2 separate regions of the Homo sapiens genome follow, and region 1 is linked to region 2. The links are contacts of gene promoters, found by promoter capture Hi-C in human tissues and cell types (Jung and others, 2019). All regions are on one chromosome and are shown on one strand. The core of a region is centred on a gene start or on the middle of the fragment in contact, and the rest is flanking DNA. Distances in the headings are between cores, read along the strand shown. Region 1 holds the start of UTS2R (urotensin 2 receptor). Region 2 holds the start of LRRC45 (leucine rich repeat containing 45).

Region 1 (6,609 bases), core at 752-3,251, 350 kb before region 2:
TTAAAAGTCCAAATAGAAGAACATGTAAGGAGAGGAAGGCCTCTGCAATCTCCATTTCTCATACAGGGAAACGAATTCAAGATGGATTGCAGGCCTAAGTGTGAAAGGTTAAATCAGTCAGTCGAGGTTCTGGAAGAAAACGGGAATACTGGCATAACCTTGGATGGGAAAATATTTCTTAAAAATGAACAAAAAATACTTTCAATAAAAGACTAAGCAAATGGGTTTCATTAAAATTAAGAACTTTACCAAGAGAGCGAAATCATAAGCCACAGGCTAGGAGATCATCAGAAAACATATATCAGGCCAGTTGCAGTGGCTCACGCCTGTAATCCCAGCACTTTAGGAGGCCTAGGCAAGTGGATCACCTGAGGTCAGGAGTTCGAAACCGGCCTGGCCAACATCTCGAAACCCCGTCTCTACTAAAAATACAAAAATTAGTCGGGCATGGTGGCACACGCCTGTAATCCCAGCTGCTCGGGAGGCTGAGGCAGGAGAATTGTTTGAACTCGGGAGGTGGAAGTTGCAGTGAGCCAAGATTGAGATTGTGCCACCGCACTCCAGCCTGGGCAACAAAGTGAGACTTTGTCTCAGAGAAAAAAAAAAAGAAGAAACATAGACAAAAAGCTGGTAAGAAAAATATAGGGAAGAACTGCAAATTAGTAAGGAAAAGACAAACAACCCATTTGAAAAAAAGAGACCAAAACCGTGACCGGGGACTTCCTGAAAAGGACACCCACGCAGCCAACAAGCAGGGAAATGCCAGTCAGGGCCACAGGAGCCCCTGCGTGCTGACAAGGATGAACGCGTGAAAAGGCAGATATCCTTGTCAACAGGCGTGGGGGCTGTGGAGGAGCTGGCCCTGCCGTTTCCTGTTGCTGGGAACCTGGACTGTGCCGCCGCTTTGGAAAGCCATTGGCACGATTTGCAGAGTTGACCGCCTATACCTTCTCACCCGGCAATTCTACTCTCAGGTTAGTACCTTAGATAAAGGGCTGCCAACGTTCAGAAAATGACAAGCGTGCGAAAGTTCACGGCAGCTTGACTCCTAAGAAGCTGGAAACAGCTCAAATGTCCCCAGTGGACGGGGCAGGCAAACTGTGACATGAAGCCAGTGAAGGAGTCGCCGCTGGGGTCAGCAGCCTGGATGAAACAGCGCGGTGGTGGGCTGAAGAAACAAGACACAGGAGGCTGCCTGATTCCACGAGCCACGCTGAATTTAGGCCGAACACTCATGGCTGCGCAGGGAGCAGTCTTGGCTGGGGTGGGGAGTTGTCAACAGGTGGGGGCGCTGGGGGCCTTCCAGGGCCTGGAAATGTGCCCTGTCCGCCCTTTCCCACCAGGCCGAGCAGCTCCCAGCTCCATCTGTCCAGGGGACCCTCACCCCCTTGCTGCCCCCACCCAGGGCATTTCCAGAGCCCTCACCCAGGGGACGGCGCAGAAGCCGAGGGTGCACCGGGCTCCCCAGTTGTGCGCGAGCCCGAGTCACGGGCAGGGGGACAGCGGCCGCCGGGCCGCTAGGATTGCTCCAGGGTCGCTAGGGGGGAAGGGGAGGGGCCGAAAGTTCCACGGCACGGGAGAAGCCGCCTCGCTGGACCCCGCTCCCCTCGCCCAGGGTGGGTTCCCACCGCGAAACCCCGGCCCAGCCCTGCGGAGGGCCCCGAAGGGCACAGACCCGGCAGTCCCCGCGCGCTCCCGGTCACCCACCGAGGACCCACCTGCCTCCGGTCACTGAGCGGCCAGACCTGCCCGCCGAGCCTGGGGTCGCGCGTGGGGGCAGCCGCTCGCGGCTCCAAACTCCTCGCGCAGCGGGGCCGCGGGGAACTTTCCGAGGCGCGCTCCCCTGTCCCAGCGCAGAGGGGGCGCGAGGGGCTCCGCGGTGGCCTCGGCTTCCAGAGCACACGGCAGGGGCGCCCGCCAGTCCCGCCACCAAAGCCGCGCCCCCCGCCCCGCGCCGGGTCTCTGCGCCGCCGCCACCTGCCCGCCGCCAGCTGGGAATGCGCCGCGCCCCGCGCCAGGGCCCGGTATTAAAATAACCCCAGCGGGCAGCAGGCGCGCGGAGGGGACGGCGCCGGGTGTCTAGGGGGCGGCGCTGACCGCGCGGCGCCGGGAAGACGCGGGGGTCGCGGGGCCGCAGCGGGGTCGGCGGAGGGTCCCAGGCGGGTCTCGCGTCTGCGTCTGCGGAGCGAAGCTGCCTCCAGCCCGGCTGCCCCAAGGCTGACCCCGCAGCCCCTCTTGGGTTCTCCGCCTCCAGCGTTCACCCCTGCGCCCCTCACGCCCGTGTTTGCAGGGCACGGAGCCTGGGATTCTCCGTGTCCACCAAGCCCTGGACCCGCCCGCGCGCAGGTGGGGGGCAGGAACACCCCTAAACCCCGAGAGGGTCATAGAAAGGAGGTAAGGGAGGGAGGGAGTCACCCGCCCAGGCGGGGACGGGCTCTTTGGGGGCCTTGACCCCGCCCCTGTTGCGGGTCTCCCACAGATGCTCTTAGAAGCCCACGCAGCCTCTCCAGGCCTCGGCAGGGACTCGTGGTGGCCACATCCACGGAAGTGACGCTGGGAGCTGCAGGGCCCCGCGGGGTAGGAGGAAGGACCCCACAGCCTCACCCTCGAGCCCCTGAGCTGGGTGCTGGCCCCCACTCGGTTTCACTTGCTGCTCGGAGGTAGGATGTGGGCCTTCACTCATGCTGAACCCCTGAAAGAAAAAGACACAGAACATTAATAAATTAGACTAGAGGAGAGCTGGAGAGCTGTGAACACGGGGTCTAAAGGGCCCCCAGCGAGGAGCTGGCCTCGCCCACTCCACTCCGCCCGGGGCTCATCTGCTGCCTGAGGCCGCGGACCGGCCCCTAAAGCTGAAGGGGTTCTGCTGGGGGAGAGGAGGTGGCCAAGTGTGAATGGCCGAGAGGCTCCTGCAATCAGCTGGATCCGGGGGAGCCCCAGATGCCCACCAGTCCCCTCCGTGGGACGTTTGCCACGTGCTGGGGAGGCGAGGCTGGGCTGGAGAGGGCGGGAAAAGTCCCTCTGGTCTCCGAGCGTCCGCTGGACGGAGCAAGGGTCACACAATAAGACAGTTCATTCTCTGTGAGCTGAAAACAGCCGAACTGAAACCAAATACAGCTGCAGCTTCCGACCCGAAAGGGGAGCAGCTCATCCTGCCTGTGCGCGGGAGGAAAGGGGGTGGAAGGCTGCCTCCGACGTGATGGTTCTGTGAGAGCTGATTACTAAGCTGGAGTCTAGGGGCTAGGGCTGGGGAAAAGCACTCAGGACCCAGAATGCCTGCTCCAAGAATTAAATTTCCCGCAAGCCAGCTGCCGAAACGATCTGCTGTCACCTCAGCCAGTTCACCGAGTAGCTGCTGAAACGACCTGCCCTGACACGAACACCGGGTTTTTTATTTTTTATTTTATTTTTTTATTATTTATTTATTTATTTTTTTGAGATGGGGTCTCACTCTTTCACCCGGGCTGGAGTGCAGTGGTGCGATCTCGGCTCACTGCAACCTCGGCTCACTGCAACCTCCACCTCCCAGGCTCAAGCAATTCTCCTGCCTCAGCCTCCCAAGTAGCTGGGATTACAGGCACCCGCCACCACACCCAGCTAATTTTTGTGTTTGTAGTAGACGGGGTTTCATCATGTTGGCCGGGTAGGTCTCGAACTCCTGAGCTCAGGTGATCTGCCCACCTCAGCCTCCCAAAGTGCTAGGATTACAGGCGTGAGCCACCGTGCCTGGCCTCCAGTGCTGGTTTTACCACTGAGGCCACTCGCCTGAGCTTGCCAGCTCCCCCGAACTACCAGTGCCAACGGGCTTTCTTTCAAAGCAATAGATAACGTTTCTCTTTCCAAAAGAATCCCGATTTTCTTTTGTTCTTGAACATACCGAATTGAAATTCTTCCTAAAATTAAACATTAAACTTAAAGATTTGTCTGTATATTTGGACTTTGACAGTTGCTATGTATAAAATGCTTCAGCAAGGAAATAATAATCTGATTATTGTTTCCTTGCTGCTTCATATCTTATGTGATCCATAATTGATGGGGGAAAAATAGCCGATAGAAGCAGGTCCATATGTGACACAAGTATTGGAATTAGCAGACCAGGAGTTTCTGTTTTACAAAAACTGTTACAAATATAGTAAAGCAAGCAGAAGAACCTGGGCAACATGCATGAAAAGATGGAAATTTTCACCAGAAAATGGGAATGTATTTCTTTCTTTATTTGAGACAGGGTCTCGCTCTAAGGTCTAGCCTAGGCTCGCCCAGGCTGGAGTGCAGGGGTGTGATCATGGCTCACCGCAGCTTTCTTTGACTTCCTACACTCAAGCAATTCTCCTACCTCCCGAGTAGCTGGGACTACAGACATGCACCGCTACACTACACTTGGCTAATTTTTGTATTTTTTGTAGAGACAAGTTTCACCATGTTGCCCAGCCACTACGCCCAACCCCATTTGACTCTTTTATTAGAAATTCCCAGGCTGGGCACTGTGGCTAACACCTGTAATCCCAGCACTTTTTTTTTTTTTTTTTTTTTTGAGATGGAGTCTCACTCTGTCGCCCAGGCTGGAGTGCAGTGGCGTGATCTTGACTCACTGCAACCTCCGCCTCCCAGGTTCAAGCAATTCTCTGCCTCAGCCTCCCGAGTGACTGGGATTACAGGTGCCCACCACCACACCCAACTAATTTTTGTATTTTTTTTTTTTTTTTTGAGACAGAGTCTCGCTGGTCGCCCAGGCTGGAGTGCAGTGGCGCAATCTCGGCTCACTGCAAGCTCTGCCTCCCGGGTTCATGCCATTCTCCTGCCTCAGCCTCCCGAGTAGCTGGGACTACAGGTGCCCACCACCGTGCCTGGCTAATTTTTTGTATTTTTAGTAGAGACGGGGTTTCACTGTGTTAGCCAGGATGGTCTCGATCTCCTGACCTCGTGATCCGCCCGCCTCGGCCTCCCAAAGTGCTGGGATTACAGGTGCCCACCACCGCTCTCAGCCTAATTTTTGTATTTTTAGTAGAGATGGGCTTTCACTATCTTGGCCAGGCTGGTCTTGAACTCCTGACCTCGTGATCTGCCCACCTCGGCCTCCCAAAGTGCTAGGATTACAGGCATGAGCCACCGCACCCGGCCAATCCCAGTACTTTTGAAAACTGAGGCAGGATGATCACTCGAGTCTAGAAGTTTGAGACCAGCCTGGGCACATAATGAGACCCTCCATTTCTATTTCTAAAAAAATTTTTTAAAGGGTGAAGGAAATAATGTATACAGTGGTCCATTTCCAAGACAGTGTGCCTTGAATCGGCTTAGGTCAGCAAACTACAGAAGAACAGGATATACTAGGCCCCAGCTTGGATAGTGGATGCCTGCTTGTCGGCCTCATCCACTCCCTTTTAACCCCCTCTTAGTTGCCCTCACCCAAATCAAAGAAGTTTAAGATGAAATTTTACTAGCCTGCAAAATAGCTGGTTTGATCTATTCTTATCAGCCTGCCCAGCTACTTAGGTCATAAGTCAAATACTTAAAGAGCCCCTGAGCTAACTAGGATTGCAATGCATTGTGGGCTGCAACAAAATGCAGCAGGACAACCCTGAAGAAAACACCTACAGCACCTGCCCAACAACCAATAGGCGACATCCGGGAAGATTGTGACCCGAGAGTACTCAGCCTATGAGGAACCTGGGGAGGGACCTGCACCCTGCAGCCCCTGCCCAACAACCAATAGGCGACATGCAGGAAGACTGTGATCCCCTAGTACTCAGCCTATGAGGAAGCTGGGGAGGGACCTGTGCCCTACAGCCCCTGCCCAACAACCAATAGGCGACATGCGGGAAGACTGTGACCCCAGAGTACTCAGCCTATGAGGAACCGGGGGAGGGATCTGTGCACTAGGGGATAAATTGCTTGTTGAAACTGCTGGGTGTGCCTGCCCACCAGACACCCGATCTTGCCGTCATTAAAAGCCTCGCTTTCGCTGTTCTCCAGGTCCCTGAGTCAGTTCTTTGGATTTGGACGGATGAGTTTCTTTCTCACAAGGGTCAAATGGACATTTTATAACTTTTAAAAGTACAGTATCTAAAATTCAGAAATCACAGCAGAAGAAAGAATCAGTTAACTTAAAGGTAGGTCAATAGAAATTATCCAGACACAGAAAGAGAAAAGAATGAAAAACAGAAAAGCCTGTGGAACCACACCATCAAATGATCTGACGTACATGTCACTGGAGTCCCCAGATCAACAACAGAGGAAAATGGGGCAGGAGCAATATCTGAAAAGGCAGTGGCTGAAATTTTCAAAATTGATAAGCAATGTCAACTTACAGACATTAGAATCTTAGTAAATCACAAGCAGGAAAAAACTAAAAGCAAACAACTCCAGCGCATTGTAGTAAAAAATTCCAAAAACCAAAGGTAAACAGAAACTGTAAAAATTATTGAGATTAAAAAAAAAAAAAAGACAATGCATTCAGGGAATAACAATAGGAAAGATGACTAGATCTCCTCAGAAAACCATGGAAACCGAAAGAGAATGACCTCTTTAAAGTACCAAAATAAAGAATTTTAACCAACAATTTATGTACAATAAAATATAGATACTTTCAGACAAAGCTAAGAACATTTGTCA
Region 2 (6,043 bases), core at 66-2,565:
CTTGGTCAGCCAGGGGACAAGCCTGGGGTGCACCCTGCAGCCTTCCTCAGCTCCTGGGCTCCCTGTCTTCAGGGGGCTTCCAAGGGCCGGCTTGTTTGCCAATGTGAACTCTTGCTCTGGAGATGGTCACACACAGGAGGCCATCAGAGAGCGGCCTGGGGACTCACAGACAGCTTCCAGCCACCTGCCCAGACCCCAGGCCCCCGAGACCTGGCATCTTCCACCTCTCCTCTTGCCCTTGGGTGGCACACTCGGACACTCAAGAGTGCAGGTATCTCACCTTTAAGTCCAGAAAGCGCAGCACGGTGTTGGCACACAGGCCTCGGAGCAGCAGTGTGGCCCCTGTGTAAGGGGGGCCGGCGGTCACTCTCTGCCCCTGCTGACCCCAAGGCCCTCCCCGTGGGCCCCTTTTCAGGGCAGCTCCCTAGACCCAGGAAGGGACAACTGTCCCGATGGTCTGGGTTGGCGCTGGCCAAGAGTCTCGCTGCGAAGTCATGTTTGAAACACCTGCAGCCCCTGCCAGGCACCAAGCCGGCTCTGCACGCGGGGAACCAGGTAAGACCGCGAATGTTAAGGCCTCTCCCCCGTCATACAGAGGAACTGCCCTCTACTCCCAGGTGCAGGAAGGGGCGCCCCTGCTCGCTTTAACTACGGCACAGAAATTGGAGAGCCTGGAGAGGAAGCGACCTCGGGCTGCCGAGGCAATGGTGTGGGCAGCTAAGGAGCAGAGGGATCCACCCCGCCGCGCCTGCCCACCTTCCTCGCTGAGCATGCAGTCACTCAGGACCAGCTCCGTGCACAGCGTCTCCCTCGGCAGCAGCTTGCCCAGGGCCCTGCAGGTCTCCACCGTCAGGCTTTGCGTGGCCAGGTCCAGCCGGCCCCTGGGAAGCTGGTGCAGCTGCTGCAGGACAGCCTCCTGGGGCTCGGCCCCACTCTCCCTGCACAGGCGGCTGTAGGAGCGCCGGAACTCCTCCATGACCCGCGGGGCCGGCAGGGCCTCCTCCGCATGCTCCCGCAGCTGCTGAAAGGGAGCCGCGCGGTGCGGAGCAGTCCCAGCGCCGGGTACAGGAGACGGGGCCTCCGCCGACCCGGGCGGAGAGCAATCCGAGTGGGCTCCGCGGGCGGGAGGTCCTGGGAGCGCGGGGCTGGGCGGTAGTCAAGGTCCGCTTTGGGCTGGGGCCCCGCAGTGCTTGGGGACCACCCGTGCAGGAAGCAGGCAGGTGCGTCGCGCGCCCCCACCCAGCCCTGCCCCGCCTGCAGCCCCGACCCCCGCCCTCGCGACAGCCGCGTCGGGGCCTCAGTATCCAGGAAGAACAAGGCGCGCCGGGAGAGGCCGCGGGAACTACAACTCCTAGCAGGCTCTGCGCAGGCAGCGCTTGGTGCGGGCCAATGAGAACAAAGGAACTGGCGCGCCTTTCGGGCCGCAAGCTGAGAGGGGGCAGCGCGCTCCAGGTTCATTGGCTAGGGGCATGAGGGTGGGGCCCCGGGAGGGCATGCTCCGGGCTCATTGGCTGAGGGTCGTGAGGGTGGTGCCCCGGGAGGGCGCGTTCCAAGTTCATTGGCTGCGGGACGTGAGGGAGGGGCTGCTGGAGGGCGCGCTCCGGGCTCATTGGCTGAGACGTGGGGGCGGGGCTCCGAGAGCAGGCGCTTCGGACTCATTGGCTAGGGGCGCGGGGCGGGGCTCCGGGGGCGCGCTCCGGTCTCATTGGCTGGAGGCGCGGGGCGGGGTTCCGGTGGGCGCGCGTTGAGGCTGCGGTCATGGAGGGAGCAGGAGCTGGATCCGGCTTCCGGAAGGTGAGGGCCGGAGGGCAGGGGCTAGGCAGGCGCGGACGCTCCGTCCCGACCTCACGCGTGACACTGTGAGGGCCAGACGCCAGCCCCCGCGCCGCCCCCTGTGCCTTTGAGGTTGGGCCCGTTCTCAGACTCCATCTCCGGCCGGGCCGCGCGCCCCGCGCCCTCGTGGGCTGGTGTCTCGCAGCTGGTAGGAGGGGGCGTGGAGCAGCCGGGGCTGCGGGAAGGTGGAGAGGGTCTGCAGAAACAGGCAGGGGTGGGCGCCGTCACGGCGGAGTCCAAGCCGGCGAAGAGAGAGGAGGAGCTGGGCCGCCGCCCTGCGCCCTGAGCCTGGGGTCTTTTGTTAAGGGGAGATGAGGCCCCAGGACGGGGACAGTGAGATCGTCCAGCCCGAGGAGCCGGCAGGACCTACCCCAGCCGCCAGGCACAGTGGTTTCCCTTTTGTTTGCTCCCCGGTGGGCGCCAGCACTGGGCTAGGAACGCGTGGTTTCTTCGGTGCTCCACGTTACACACACTTGACAGGGATTAACCCCACCTGCCAGTGGAGAAACTGAGGCACGGGGGCGTTAAGTGACTCAGCAGGGCTAGGGTCAGACCTAGGCCGTCTGAGCCAGGATCCGCCCAGGCTGGAGGGCGTGCCCTGCTCTTCCCTGTTCCTGGAAGTGGAGCTCTCTGGGGGTGCCATGTGCAGAGGACCCCATCGGTGCAGGCAGAGTGGTTTCTGAACCTTTCTACTGCTCTACCTGAAGGTTGGGGCACCGAGCTTCCTCGATGTCAGCAGGGCCTCGTGGGCCTCTGTGGCCTGGGAAGGGAGGGTCTCAGGCCCTTGTGAACCCATCCTGGAGGGAGGACTTCAGCCCTGTAGAAGCAGGGAGAATTCTGTTTCTCCTGAATCAGGCCCTTCTTTATCACCCAAGGCAGCAGGCGTGGGGGGCGGGGGGTGTCGGTGTGGGGAACTCTGGTGGTGGAGTTGAAGATTCTTGCCGGAATTCAGAAAGAGAAAGTCACTGAGGCTTGGGCCACCTCACTGGGTGGTTGTGAGAACACCAGGTTAAAGTAGCCAAAAGGCCACTGCCGGAGACGGGGCACTGGGTACACACCCCAGGAGGTCATGTGTTCTATCAAGCCCACCTGACAACTAGAGGCCCAGGGGCTCTGGCCAGAGCTGGAGTTGTGGTCATTGCAGAGAATGAGCGTGAGAATGACGGGGAGTGGGGGGCCCGTAGCCCTGGCGTGGCGCCCACGTCATGGGGCAAAGCTGGCTGTGTCCTAGGCACCCTCCACAACCGCCCCAGTGCTGGGCCTGCCTTCCGAGGCCACTGCCGATGTACGGGGAAGCCCCATGGATTGTCGAGGCAGACCTGGCATCCGCCACTCTCTGGCGTGGTCTTCCTTCCAAGGCCTGGGGCAGCAGTGTTGGGGGTCCCGGAGCAGGTGGGGAGATAGTGCCTTCTCTACCTTTTCTGGTGCCTTTCTGGTACTGCTGGCAGTAAGCAGCTGGAAGGACCAGCAGGTGGCACTGGGCTCATGCGGGTGGTGACTGGGACCCTGGCTAGGGAACAGCAAGGGCTCAGGACGAGCCGGGATGCTGGACAAGCCGGGATGCTGGACCCTGCTGCCCGCTGCTGGGGAACATTCTTCACCATCTGCATCTTAGGGCTTCACCCGTCCATGCTCTGCTTGTCACCTGCTGGACTGCTCTGGGTGAGGTGCTGTGACCTCCCTGTGGCCGATGCTGGTGGCCTGGCTGGTAGTTCACCCACCTGCCCTTTTAGTGGCCTGTTTCTGGGCTCCTGGGTGCCCACTGCCCCCACCCCCAGTCCTGGACTCTCCGTGCTGGCTCCTTTCCCGGCGGCTGTGGGCCGGTGCCTGGCCTGGGCCACCTCACTGAGTCTCATGGCTCCACCAGCCACCCAGGGCTGCCCTCCTGAGTCTCGGCCGCCACCACTGCAGCTGCCACCCACCACTCCTGTGTTCACACACAACGCATCCCAAACTGATCTCCTGTGTCCTAGCTCCAAAATGCACTTGCCCACGGCCCCCCATCTCCTCAGAGCAGTGCCGTCCTTTTGGGGTCTTGGCGTAGACTCCTCCCTTGTCCCCGTCCTCCATCCATCAGAAAGGCAGAAAGGCCCTGGCTCTGCAGCCCCCTCCCTTCCCCCCACCCCGGGCATGGCAGCCAGAGTGGTCCTTTCCAACGCCAGTGCTGCTTTCCACAAAAACCTAGAGAGGACTCCCAGTTTCCTGCCATGGAGACACGGAGAGCTCATCATGCCCTGGGCCCTCAGCGTCTGGCCCACCCCTCACTCCAGCCTGTGGACCACGCTGGCGCAGCCCCGCTCTGCGCTCCCAGGACACCAGCACCTCCTGCAGGATCATGAGCACCAGGGCAAGACGGGCGGAGCTGACCCAGCACCCAGAACAGAGTTGGCACAAGGAAGGCCCTACTGGTGGCACTCCCTCAGGCCAGCCCACCTGCAGAGCAGCCACCTCCAGCCTCCAGACCCAACCCGGGCTCTGCCTTCCCTGCCTCCCCACAAGGAGAGCAGAGCCATGGCCCTCTGCCGGGGATGGGAGTGCAAGATTAGGCCGGACTCGACGAGGCCTTTCTCCACTCTCTCCCTGGAGCCCCAGCAGCGGGGCCTGCTCCCGTGTCTGCGACCACTCACGCCGTAGGGAGGCTCCCAGCCCAGACCCTGTGCAGGGCCCTGGCGCCCCCTAGTGGAGCTGCCCACGCATCTGCTTCAGCTTCTGCCACCCGAAGCACTAGGCTGGCCCTTGTCCCCTGCCCTGGGAGAGGCTCAGGCACAGAGGGCGTCTCCAGCCAGAAGTCACAGCCACTGTCACCAGAATGGTCACCACCCTGGGGGGTGCGGGGGGGAGGGCGGGGCGTGGCGCTGACACCCCCCTCCCTTCTAGGAGCTGGTGAGCAGGCTGCTGCACCTGCACTTCAAGGATGACAAGACCAAAGGTGCGGGTGGGGGTGCGGGCGGGAGGTGGGTCCCCGTGTCTGTCCTCAGGGACCCTTTCCTGCAACTCTGCAGGGCCAAGGCCTCGGGAGGGCGGGGGTATGTCTGGAGCACCCAGCCAGAGCGGTGGGTGAGGGTCCCGCATAACCTCCCCCTGCCTTGCAGTGAGCGGGGACGCGCTGCAGCTCATGGTGGAGTTGCTGAAGGTCTTCGTTGTGGGTGAGCCCAGGGCCCACGCTCCCTCCGGGCACAGCATCCGGAATTTTGCGTTTTTCCAGCGGGAAAACCAAGACGTGTTTTCCCGTTTCCCACAAGGGCCTAAACTTGGGTCTCCTGAGCCTGTTTGTCAGGTGCTGTGGCCTGGTTCTGGGGGCTGCCCGTGGGTGTTGGGGGGGGCACCGGCCCAGGCTGAGGCCCTCACTGGGCTCGGGTTTAAGATCCCCCCAGCATCCCCCACCTCTCGCGTTTCTCACCGCAGAAGCAGCAGTCCGCGGCGTGCGGCAGGCCCAGGCAGAAGACGCGCTCCGTGTGGACGTGGACCAGCTGGAGAAGGTGCTTCCGCAGCTGGTGCGTGAGCGTGGGTCGGGGCGCAAGTGGGGGTGCCCGGCTGGCTGGCCCTAAGTGCTTCTCTTCCCCACAGCTCCTGGACTTCTAGGGATCTCAGCCGTGGCTGAGGCCACCCCCAGAGGAGCCCCTGGTCCACAGAAGCAGGCCTTGTGTTTCCAGCGGCCTCTGATAAGAGGCAGGGAAGGACCTGAAGGATTTGGAGTTGATTCAAACAAGATCTCTGGGAGTCTCCAGCCTGTGCAGAAGGGGCAGGACTGCAGTGCACTGCGGGCCTTGGAGTGTCCAGTGGGGACACTGGTGTGGGAAGGGGCAGCACCTGGGGAGTCCCTGCCTCTCCTCCCTGGGACAATAGTGTGCATGCCACCCGGGGTCCTACAGGCAGGTGCTGGGAAAGGCCTGGCCAGCAGGTAGCCTGTGTGTTTGACAAACAGCAGCTGGCAGCGCTGCCTCCTGCCCACATTCCTGCCACCCGACATCAAAGCTGGCGTGTGACCTTTCCAGCCATGCGATATTCCCCTTGGAAGATGCTTCCCCAGGCTATAAATTTGTTCTCACAAAGCAACATCAATAAATCAAAACTGTCTCTCCCAGCTTGGCTTTCTTGCCATTAATCACCAAAGTCAAACTGCTTCAAAGCTGCACTTCCCGTGTGTGCCCTTCCACTCCTGGTAAGAAAGCAAAGCGCCAGGAGGATGCACTAACAAACAGCATGTGTG

The links. Contacts are between HindIII fragments. The study calls those that stand out against the background at their distance.
Region 1: the fragment with the promoter of UTS2R here is called in contact with the fragment with the promoter of LRRC45 in region 2 in 1 of the 25 tissues and cell types used here (pancreas).

Annotation. Positions count from the first base shown.
Region 1 is chr17:82,367,157-82,373,765 of GRCh38, reverse strand. It overlaps UTS2R (urotensin 2 receptor), which reads right to left and starts at 2,001. Exons shown (of 3, transcript NM_018949.3): 1 at 1,719-2,001; 2 at 983-1,168. The HindIII fragment of the contact is 34,629 bases long and covers 1-6,609 here.
Region 2 is chr17:82,018,577-82,024,619 of GRCh38, reverse strand. LRRC45 (leucine rich repeat containing 45) reads right to left here and starts at 1,315. Exons shown (of 17, transcript NM_144999.4): 1 at 757-1,315; 2 at 281-342. The coding sequence starts at 976. It overlaps CENPX (centromere protein X), which reads left to right and starts at 1,742. Exons shown (of 5, transcript NM_001271006.2): 1 at 1,742-1,794; 2 at 4,711-4,762; 3 at 4,926-4,979; 4 at 5,239-5,327; 5 at 5,401-5,917. The coding sequence starts at 1,759. The coding sequence ends at 5,415. RefSeq lists enhancers at 342-1,265, 2,815-3,487 and a silencer at 1,002-2,051. The HindIII fragment of the contact is 20,224 bases long and covers 1-6,043 here.